Regions from separate parts of the Homo sapiens genome. Here all the other regions are linked to region 3. The links are contacts of gene promoters, found by promoter capture Hi-C in blood cells and fetal thymus (Javierre and others, 2016). All regions are on one chromosome and are shown on one strand. The core of a region is centred on a gene start or on the middle of the fragment in contact, and the rest is flanking DNA. Distances in the headings are between cores, read along the strand shown. Region 1 holds the start of MGAT1 (alpha-1,3-mannosyl-glycoprotein 2-beta-N-acetylglucosaminyltransferase). Region 2 has its middle 3.8 kb from the start of LINC00847. Region 3 holds the start of TRIM41 (tripartite motif containing 41).

Region 1 (2,949 bases), core at 100-2,599, 420 kb after region 3:
CACCATGCCTGGTGACCCCTTAGCAGTTTTGATTTAGGTCCTCGCCTCCACGCAGGGGCCTGCGGGTGCGCGCGGCCCTTTGTTTCTCTAGAACCCTGCACGATTCGTGGTTTCATGTAGAAACAAGTTAGTGAGCAGTCAGTCAGTAACCACAGGCCGCAGAGTTCCGGGCTGCTCCGTGCTCTGGAACACGGGGGAGGGGTTGATGTCAGGGGCGTGGGTCCTGATCACATGGCAGCAGCCCTTCTTGGGGAAGTCAGCTACCCAGCAGCCTGTAGTCCTCGGCTACCCACCCTCACCGCCTGGGGTCCCATGGTGAGACAGCTGGGTGGGCATCAGGCTTCTGCAGAGGGCCAGGCCGGAGGGAGCTGGGCGAGGGAGTGGGGCTGGCTCCTGGCTTGCACCGGCCTCGTGGAATCCAGGCCTCAGACCTGATCGCTGGCGAAACTGGCTCTGTGCGCTGGAGCCCCTGGTCTTCTGCGTCTGTCCTCCTCCCGGCCAGACTTTACTCCTGGCTCAGCGACAGGTATTTGCTATGGAAGAGCTGTCCCTCCCTCCCCTCGGTGGGCCTGGGTCCACCTCCACCTCCTCTTCAGGTCCGCACCTTCCTCCCCTTTAAAACACCAGCCGGGCGCAGACCCGTTCTAGGCTTTTCCATGGTGCTTCCGCCAAAGCTTGTGACCGAGTCCTTCCCGCCTAGGGCTGGTGGGCCTCCCCTGCTGGTAGGTCTCTCTTCGCTTTCTTTACTCAGAACTGAAGCTCTCATTCCCCACCCACCAAGGAAAAACAAAAGGGAAGAAGCCACAGCTGGCCCCGGCTTGCTTTGGCACAGGTGTTTCCCCCCGGCCCCCCGTCGGGCACCCTGGTTCCTGTTCTGTCCCTGCCCCACGCGACCCTGGGGCTCCCACCCGGGCTCCTCAGCCTCCCCTGGGTTGGGGTGGGGGGACTGGCTCCCAGCCCTTGGCCTAGGGTTTGGTGAACGCCTTTCCTGGACTGCGGGCCCACTTCAGGCGCGGCTCCAGGCTGGGCAGCTGCGCTGGAGGGCCGAGGGCAGGGGTGGGGTCGGGCGTCCACCCTCAGGGTTGCGCCAGGGAGCCGGAAAGCCGACTCCCGAAGTTGGGGTCCTGGGAAAACTTGGGTCCTGGGTTGACTGAGAAGCGGCGGGGAAAGGAGGCGGGCCAGGAGGAGGGGGCCTGGCGGACGCCGGCCGGGGGGCGGGGCGCGGCGGGGCTGTCGGTCACGCCCCTCAGTCCGCCCCGCCCCGCCCCGCCTGCCGGGGAAGGGCCACGTTGCCCGCCCGGCCGTCCGGCCCCGGCGCGCCGCAGAAAGGGCTGGCGAGTCGAAAGGCGAGGCGGCCGCGGCAGCGCTTGGGACGCGCCTGGGCACCGGGCTCGCTCCCTGCGCCCCGGAGCAGGCCAAGTTCGGGGCCAGGACGTCGGGAGGACCTGGTGAGTAGGTGTCCGGGGACGGAGGTCAGACCGGGGGAGGCCTCGCGGGCGCCGAGAGGGAGCCCAAGGGACGTCGGGTCGCCCCAAAGCCCCGGTGCCCATGAGTGCTAGCGAGAGGGGGCTTGGCTGGGGAGCGGCCCGGTCCGACCCGGTGCCAGCTGCGCGTTAGTCCCTTCCCGAGCCGAGAGGTTGGAACTCCGCCTTCTGCTTTCGGAATCCCGGGCCTCCAGCTGTTAGAGGAAGGGCGGGCTCCGCGGACTGGGGAGGATGTTGTGAAACTCGGCCCCGGGCGTCCGTGCGTGCGGGGCAGGGAGGGGGTGGGATTGGGGAGTGGCCTTTCCCCCCTAACCTCACTCCAGCATCCTTTCCCCAAGTTAATAGAGGCTGATTCTCCTCAGCAGAAAGGAAATGTTGATTCAGTGTTGAAATATATATATAATAAGTTGGCAAGAAAACTTTTCTTCCTGTTTGCTAACGTGTGTGGAGTAGAGAGCCCCGGGACGTGCAGTGCCCGCGTCTGATAAACTCTGAAGTAGAGGGACTGTGGCTGGCCGGCTCCCTGAAGGCTGAAGCTTCACTTTGGTTAACCCTTGCTGCTGTAGTGGGTCTGCCGTTTTGTTTTAGAACATCACTGGCTGAGATGTTGCCCAGCTTTATTTTCAGTCATTTACGGTATTTTTTCAGGCCGTGTAGCCTTTGCTCTTACGTGCTCACATCATCCAGGATCTGCCTTCCATCAGCAATCACTGCGTCCTGGTCCTTCCCAATTCTGGGGACCATTGAGCTCACCCATTTCCCTGCTTCTGTGTCTCATTCTCACTGTTAGAAGCACTGCGGTATGCCTGACCTCAGTGGCCTGTGTTAACAAGGGAAACTCATTACTGTTCGGGGCAGTAGGGAAATTGTCACTGTCGTCAGTATCCAGGCAGTGGGACCTTGTGATGAACCAAATCAACCCTGTCACCTTATAGATGAGAGAACTAAGGTACAAGTGGGTCAAGTGACTTGTCCAAAGTTGCCTGGCTTGCTGGCTGGATCGCCTGAATCCCAGGCCTCATGCCTTTTGTGGCACTTGTATTTAGCTCTTCTTTTCCAGGATGAATAACCTGCATCCCTTCCCTCCTAGGTCTTATTCTCTCAACTCTTGAATTATTTAGTGTATCTTCTCTGACTACCTTTCTTTTTTTTCCGTCCTGAAATTATGGGCCTGGTACATGATACAGGAGTCCAGCCAAGGTCTAAGAACGAACATGAAAGCAGTTCAGTTAGAGTTCCATTACCTGTGACATGTCTATATTTTCTGGAATTTTTACGTAGTGCTTTTTAACTTTAAGCAAAGCAGAGATAGAAGGGAAAATCTGTTACCATTTCTTCCACTTCTGTACTTAATTTTACAGCTAAATATAACTTCTCGCTTATTGCTCATGATTGGAAGTTGACTATCTGGTGTTCACTTGCTATTTAAGAAACATTTTTTGCCAGATAAAGGAAATAGGCTGGA
Region 2 (3,066 bases), core at 382-2,881, 400 kb after region 3:
ACACGTTTTATAATCAATTTGTACAGTTAACACAATTATCATAGTGATCCTGAGGTGACATACATGCTCAGCTTATGAAGATAACAGGATTAAGAGATTAAAGTAAAGACAGGCATAAGAAATTATAAAAGCATTATTTGGGAACTGATAAATGTCCATATTAAAATAAAATCTTCACAATTTATGTTCTTCTGCCACAGCTCCAGCTGGTCCTTCCATTCGGGGTCCCTGACTTCCCGCAACATAGAACCCTCAAATAGATGAAGGTGGAGCTTCTTGGGTAGAGACTGGAGGATTGGGGTGTTGCCCACCGGGCCTTACGGACTCTCCTGAGTGATCTGAGTCACCTCCAAAGAGCTAGGTGTCAACTCCAAAACACCCTGTGTCCCTTTCTTCCATTTAGTAATCGAAGCCTTACCACCAGAGGTTTGGCAGGGCACGTTGAAGGGGTGGGTTGCCCCTCCACACCTGTGGGTGTTTCTCGTTAGGTGGAACGAGAGACTTGGAAAAGAAAAAGACACAGAGACAAAGTATAGAGAAAGAAATAAGGGGGCCCGGGGAACCAGCGTTCAGCATATGGAGGATCCCGCCAGCCTCTGAGTTCCCTTAGTATTTATTGATCATTTGTGGGTGTTTCTCCGAGAGGGGGATGTGTCAGGGTCACAAGACAATAGCGGGGAGAGAGTCAGCAGACAAACACGTGAACAAAGGTCTTTGCATCATAGACAAGGTAAAGAATCAAGTGCTGTGCTTTTAGATATGCATACACATAAACATCTCAATGCTTTACAAAGCAGTATTGCTGCCCGCATGTCCCACCTCCAGCCCTAAGGCGGTTTTTCCCTATCTCAGTAGATGGAACGTAAATTGGGTTTTATACCGAGACATTCCATTGCCCAGGGACGGGCAGGAGACAGATGCCTTCCTCTTGTCTCAACTGCAAGAGGCATGCCTTCCTCTTATACTAATCCTCCTCAGCACAGACCCTTTACGGGTGTCGGGCTGGGGGACGGTCAGGTCTTTCCCTTCCCATGAGGCCATATTGCAGACTATCACATGGGGAGAAACCTTGGACAATACCTGGCTTTCCTCAGCAGAGGTCCCTGCGGCCTTCCGCAGTGTTTGTGTCCCTGGGTACTTGAGATTAGGGAGTGGTGATGACTCTTAAGGAGCATGCTGCCTTCAAGCATCTGTTTAACAAAGCACACCCTGCACAGCCCTTAATCCATTTAACCCTGAGTTGACACAGCACACGTTTCAGGGAGCACAGGGTTGGGGGTAAGGTCACAGATTAACAGAATCTCAAGGCAGAATTTTTCTTAGTACAGAACAGAATGGAGTCTCCTACGTCTACTTCTTTCTATACAGACACAGTAACAATCTGATCTCTCTTTCTTTTCCCCACAGCACGTGCCCAGCTTCCTTTCAAGTCTCTGGCCAATGCAATGTGAGCAGAAGTGAAGGGGCAACTTTCAGGTGATGACTTGGAAAAGAAAGCTTAGTCCTCTGCTTCTCCTGTCACCCGAAAGAGAAACAGAGGCTTGTCTTGTTGAAGCCAGTGTGTTTGGTGTCTTTTTGTATAGTGGCTTAGACAGTGGCCTAACTAGAAGACCAAGGCTCAAAGGAACACATTTTGAGCTTCTCCACAGTTTGAGAACCTCTACATTACCTACACCAAGCCTTCCCCAGCACTCAATTTATGGAAGACCATTTCTCTTCTCATGACACATGTCCTCATGTTGCTTTGGCCTGTTTTAAAGCTTTCTCAACTCCATCTCAATAAAGAAATCTGCAGCTTTGTTGGATGAGAGGATCTAAAAAGTTCGTTCTTCCAATCGGTTGTAAATATAGACACTAATTTATAAACTGACACAGGAACACACAGCAAATTAGTAGAAAATCCGATTCCTGTTCCCTTTTCTCCTTGCATTGTTTCCTGCCAATGCTCACCATTTCTTTATCCTTTCCACTCTTCCTTGCTCCTCCTTCCCTTTAATTTTTCTCTGTTGTGCCTAAATAAGCTGTCCATGCATGGCACTCCATGGGCTCTGATAACAGACTCAACAAGACAATGACTTAAAGATGGAGTGACCAGCTGATCAGTCACACAAGTTGTTCCAGTGTAATTATTTTCACAGGTGTCTCAGTTTGGATGATAAATTATATGAACACTCTACTTACAGAACAAAGACCTTTATTTATGTCTCTCTTGCTTCAAAGTCCAAGGTGAGCATGCCTGCCTGGCAGCTCTGCCTCAATTCCTTTTAAATCATTCCTTTGTCATACTTCAGCACACTGCTGTCATCTGTATGGTTGAGCTGGACTGCTGCCATGTTGAGTCACCAGTGACTTTTTGATTCTTTAATTCCCAGTTTGACTGGCATTCCTCTGTGTGTGTGTATTTAGTTCTATGCAGTTTTATCACATGTGTAGGCTTGTGTAACCACTGCCACAGCCAAGATACAGAACAGCCAAGTTTGTTTTTGTTCACTGTCATCTCTCCAAAACCTAGTGCAATGCCTGGCAAAAAGACACTCAGTACATACTTGTTGATGGGGGAATGAATGAATGAATGGTGTGCTAATTGGGGTTTTAAGATGCAAAACCCAAGCAGTGTAAGTGAGGTACATGTGGCGGTCTAGAGGTAGGACCAGCAGGATAGCTGTGCCGTCTATCTCTGGGCCAGGCAACTGCTGCAGTCCTACCATGTCCCCAGCAGATGGGCAGGGGAAAGGCAGGGCCCAGTCTTTACAGGGGCAGGTCCTGGAGTTGCACACCTCACTTCCCCTCATATCCTACAGGCCAGAACTTAGGTGCAGGTACACACCAAGCTGCATAGGAGGCCGAGGTAGATGGTATTACTTGCCTGCAATTCTTCCTTCCCTCTTTTCTCTTACTAATGTTCACCAAAGTGGAGAGTACTTTTCCACAACTCATGCAGGGCTTTGGCCAATGGAATGTGGGCAGAAGCGAGTTTGTTAGTTCTGAGCTGAGGCCTTAGGAGGCCTCTTGTGTCTCTGCTCGTCCTCTGGCCCTGTTGCCACCCCAGGTGGTCACTGGTCCAGA
Region 3 (3,441 bases), core at 820-3,319:
CTGCTTTCTAGTCAGTGCATAAGAATGACACAGAGCCAACCAAAGTCCTTGAAGACAGAACCAAGCCATATCGTGGTAGGTGGGGAACCCACTGGGAGGCAAGTGCAGAGCATTTGGGTCTGACACTGACACTAGCAGTTATCTCTGTGTTCCTGCTTCTGAGCCTTTTCTTGTCCTTTGAAGCCCCCAGTTCTTTCCATCTCTAGGTGTCTCCGTCAAGGACAGACTTAAGACTCACCCGAAAGAAAACGAGACTTCTGGTAAAGCCCTAGAGACCTGATCTGGCATCACCGGCTTTGCTCTATTTGCTTTGAGGAAGCCATCCTTCCCTGGTCGTCTTCACTGCATCTGCTCTGTGTACAGAATCCTTCTCATTCTAATCCACCTTGGTGGCAGTAAGTGCTTAGATAAGCAAACTTGGCTCACCAATACCATGAGGTTCTTTGGTGGGTGAAGAGATGTTTCCTTTTCCCAGGTCCCCTTACTTCCTCTCCATCCCCCCACTAAACTCCCATCTTCTCTCTGTACTTCTCTCACCTTGTACTCCTGCACCACCTCCTCCAATGGCACCACGCTGTGCTGTTTGTGGCTCCTGGATTCTCGGCACACCACACAGATGGCCTCTTCGTCTACCTCGCAGAAGAGCTTCAGGGCTTCTTGGTGTTTGGGACAGATGCCCTGATCGGTCACGCGGCTCCCTCGACCAGGGGTTGGGTGCATCTGCCGAATCACCTGGACCATATTGGCCAGCTGCAGGTTGGGGCGGAAGCTCCGCCGAGGAAAGCTCTTTCGGCACTGAGGGCATGTGAAGCACCTCCGAGGGGCTGGAGGCGGGGGCAGTGGGGTGACGGGGTCTAGATCCTCTTCCTCAACCTCCTCCAGCACTTCCTCCTCGTCCTCCTCATCCTCCCCCCTCAGGTCCTCCTCCTCCATGTCCCCCAAGTAGTAGTCCAGGTCTTCCTCCTCGTCCTCCTCCTCCCACACATAGTCCATGTTGTCCCAGCTGGACCTGCTCATGCCACTGGTCCAGAACACACCCTCTTCTTCCTCCTCGACCTCCTCCTCCATGTCACCCTCGTAGTCTTCATCCCGCATGGGGGTGTCCCACCCCGCGCCAGCCCCCACAGCCTCCACTTCCTCCTCCTCTCCGTCCTCCTCCTCCTCCTCCCGATCTAACTCATCTCTGTCCTCCTCATCCTCCCCACCCCACAACTGGGTTACACAAACTCGGCAGAAGTTGTGCCCGCAGCCGATGGACACGGGGTCCGTGAAGTAATCGAGGCAGATGGCGCACACCGCCTCCTCCTGAAGGGTCTGCACAGGGTTGGGTGTCATGGCAACGGCAGCCATCTTAGTGTCCAGCCAGCCAGTGTAGAGGTTCGGTGGGGGGGCGAGGGGCGGGGGTCTTCCCTACCGACGCCCTGGCGACCCGGCTCCACCCCCAGCCCTGCCCCTCCACACCTCGCCCCAAGAGCAGCCAGAGAGATGTCCTGCCGACAACCCACCCCAACACAGTGTTCCCTACTCCCAAACGACAACCGTGTCTCTACGAGGGGAGGGGACAGTGCTGGGCGCCACCGCCAAGTCCCTCAGGTGGCTCTGAGTACAAGTCTGCCCCAATGCTCCCTTGGACTCCTCATAAACCCCCGCCCCTCCTCACTTCCTGGCCCCGCCCCTAGCTTCCGGCCTCCTTCCCAACACTTCCGGCGTCTACACACCACCTAAGCTCGCGACTTCCCTCCGCTGTCCTGCTACTCCCCCTTTTTCCCCGCGGGGCCCCAGGGCGACAGGAAATGGCGAGGAGACGCTCTAGTCCGCACTAGAGAACAGGGCGGGAGGGCTAGGACGGTGGAGGCCCGCGTCTCTGTGGTAAGAGGCCGCGGGGAACGCAGAAAGAACAGAGGAACCGCCTACCCCCATCCCCCGCCGCTGGGGAGAAACTTCGGGGGGTAGGGGGAGCGCCTGGCGGCCGTCTGCTTTCGGTGCTATCACCGCATCGGCCAGACGCCATCCTACCCTCCCGGCACAGCCGACTGCAGCCGGTACTCCCCACAGCCGATGCCGGAAGCGAGGGGGTGGGTCCGCGGCGCGCCCTGAAGTACTTCCGGCCCTTCTAGGCAGACGACTTCGTTGTGGAGGACTCAGAGGGTCGTCCGGGTCGGACCGGGGGCGGGGCCTGAGAAAGCGCTTCGCGGGTTAGGGCAGCAGACGCCCCACCCTTCCCCAACTGTAGTCGGCGTTTCGCATCCGAGGTAGAAACTGCCAACCGGACACTGTCTCATGGTTTAGATGAACTTCCCTAACTGCCCAGCAGTGAAGAAGTGGTGACGAATCATTACATCTACATTCTCACAGCATCTCTGCAAAAATAGATGCTTTGTGCGGTAGAAATAATACTTGATGCTTAAATAGCTCTTTAAATTTTATTTTTATAGAGATTTGATGTCGATACATAAATAAATAAATGTTGTTTGATGCGAGAAAAATGACGGGGCCATGATTTATGTACAGAATCTCCAGTGAGTGCCAGACACAGCGTGACGCCAGGGCTGGGCCTGCAGAACTTACCCTGCTCTCAAGGCGGCTCGCGGGAAAACTCCAGATGGACGTCGCGCTTCCTAGGGGGGTGGTCAGGCCTCTGAGTATGTCAGATCAAACGCGCCAAAAACCACGAACCCTCGTGGGTGAACTATGCTAGGCCATTACAGGACCTGCGGACTCGGCTGCGGTGGACAAGTCCGGCTCCAGAACCTGGACACCGCTCAGCCGGCCGCGGCAGGGGTCCCCGGGCCTGTCCTACAAGGGCGCTTGCCTAGAGCTATCCCGGCCGTCTCAGCCGTGTGTGTCTTCAGGACGATGCCGGCAGGAAAGTAGCCAAGGTGGTTTCCGTAGTGTAGTGGTTATCACGTTCGCCTCACACGCGAAAGGTCCCCGGTTCGAAACCGGGCGGAAACACGTTTTGGTCTGTTCGGGAGATTCTCTCCCGAGGCCGGCCTTACGTGGCAGGAAGGACATGTGTGTCCCTGCGCTTCGGAGGAACACGGACTGGGGCAAAACTGAAGGAGAGCACTACTCAAGTAAATTCAGGTCTCGCCCCTCACCTAATCTCTTGCTCTTCCCTTCTGAAGCCTATGCAGCCATCACATGTACAGGAATCCGTAGATTTCAGATCCTCGGCTCTAGTGCCTAGAACAGAGCCAGGCGCAGGCGCTTCTTAGTATTTGCACAGTGGAAACGTGCTTACACCTCTGAGGGTAACCTCCATCTTCAGAGACAAAGTTAGAATACAGACATGGCCGCCCGGCTAGCTCAGTCGGTAGAGCATGAGACTCTTAATCTCAGGGTCGTGGGTTCGAGCCCCACGTTGGGCGTAATTTCGCTTTTTGGAAAGGTTAAGGCAAGTTGTGTTACCTAAGTGCACAAATGGTATTCTCTGTACCA

The links. Contacts are between HindIII fragments. The CHiCAGO score rates a contact against its expected background, and 5 or more counts as called.
Region 1: a contact is called between a fragment that was not itself captured here and the fragment with the promoter of TRIM41 in region 3, in 12 of 17 cell types (megakaryocytes, total B cells, activated CD4 T cells and 9 more). The highest score is 11.1, in megakaryocytes.
Region 2: a contact is called between a fragment that was not itself captured here and the fragment with the promoter of TRIM41 in region 3, in 5 of 17 cell types (total B cells, naive B cells, total CD4 T cells and 2 more). The highest score is 9.7, in total B cells.

Annotation. Positions count from the first base shown.
Region 1 is chr5:180,801,179-180,804,127 of GRCh38, reverse strand. MGAT1 (alpha-1,3-mannosyl-glycoprotein 2-beta-N-acetylglucosaminyltransferase) reads left to right here and starts at 1,322. Exons shown (of 2, transcript NM_002406.4): 1 at 1,322-1,448. RefSeq lists enhancers at 343-452, 596-1,302, 1,303-2,010 and silencers at 823-872, 883-962, 1,133-1,492. The HindIII fragment of the contact is 1,346 bases long and covers 677-2,022 here.
Region 2 is chr5:180,825,609-180,828,674 of GRCh38, reverse strand. It overlaps a transcript of ZFP62 not described here. Among named protein-coding and RNA genes, the nearest start is that of LINC00847, 3.8 kb to the left of the region's middle. The HindIII fragment of the contact is 263 bases long and covers 1,500-1,762 here.
Region 3 is chr5:181,221,909-181,225,349 of GRCh38, reverse strand. It overlaps TRIM41 (tripartite motif containing 41), which reads right to left and starts at 2,069. Exons shown (of 6, transcript NM_033549.5): 1 at 538-2,069. The coding sequence starts at 1,350. TRK-CTT2-3 (tRNA-Lys (anticodon CTT) 2-3) reads left to right here and starts at 3,299; the gene lies at 3,299-3,371. TRV-CAC1-5 (tRNA-Val (anticodon CAC) 1-5) reads left to right here and starts at 2,883; the gene lies at 2,883-2,955. It overlaps MIR4638 (microRNA 4638), which reads left to right and starts at 2,717; the gene lies at 2,717-2,784. RefSeq lists enhancers at 176-1,173, 1,841-2,070 and silencers at 1,321-1,530, 2,801-3,030, 3,281-3,441. The HindIII fragment of the contact is 16,690 bases long and covers 1-3,441 here.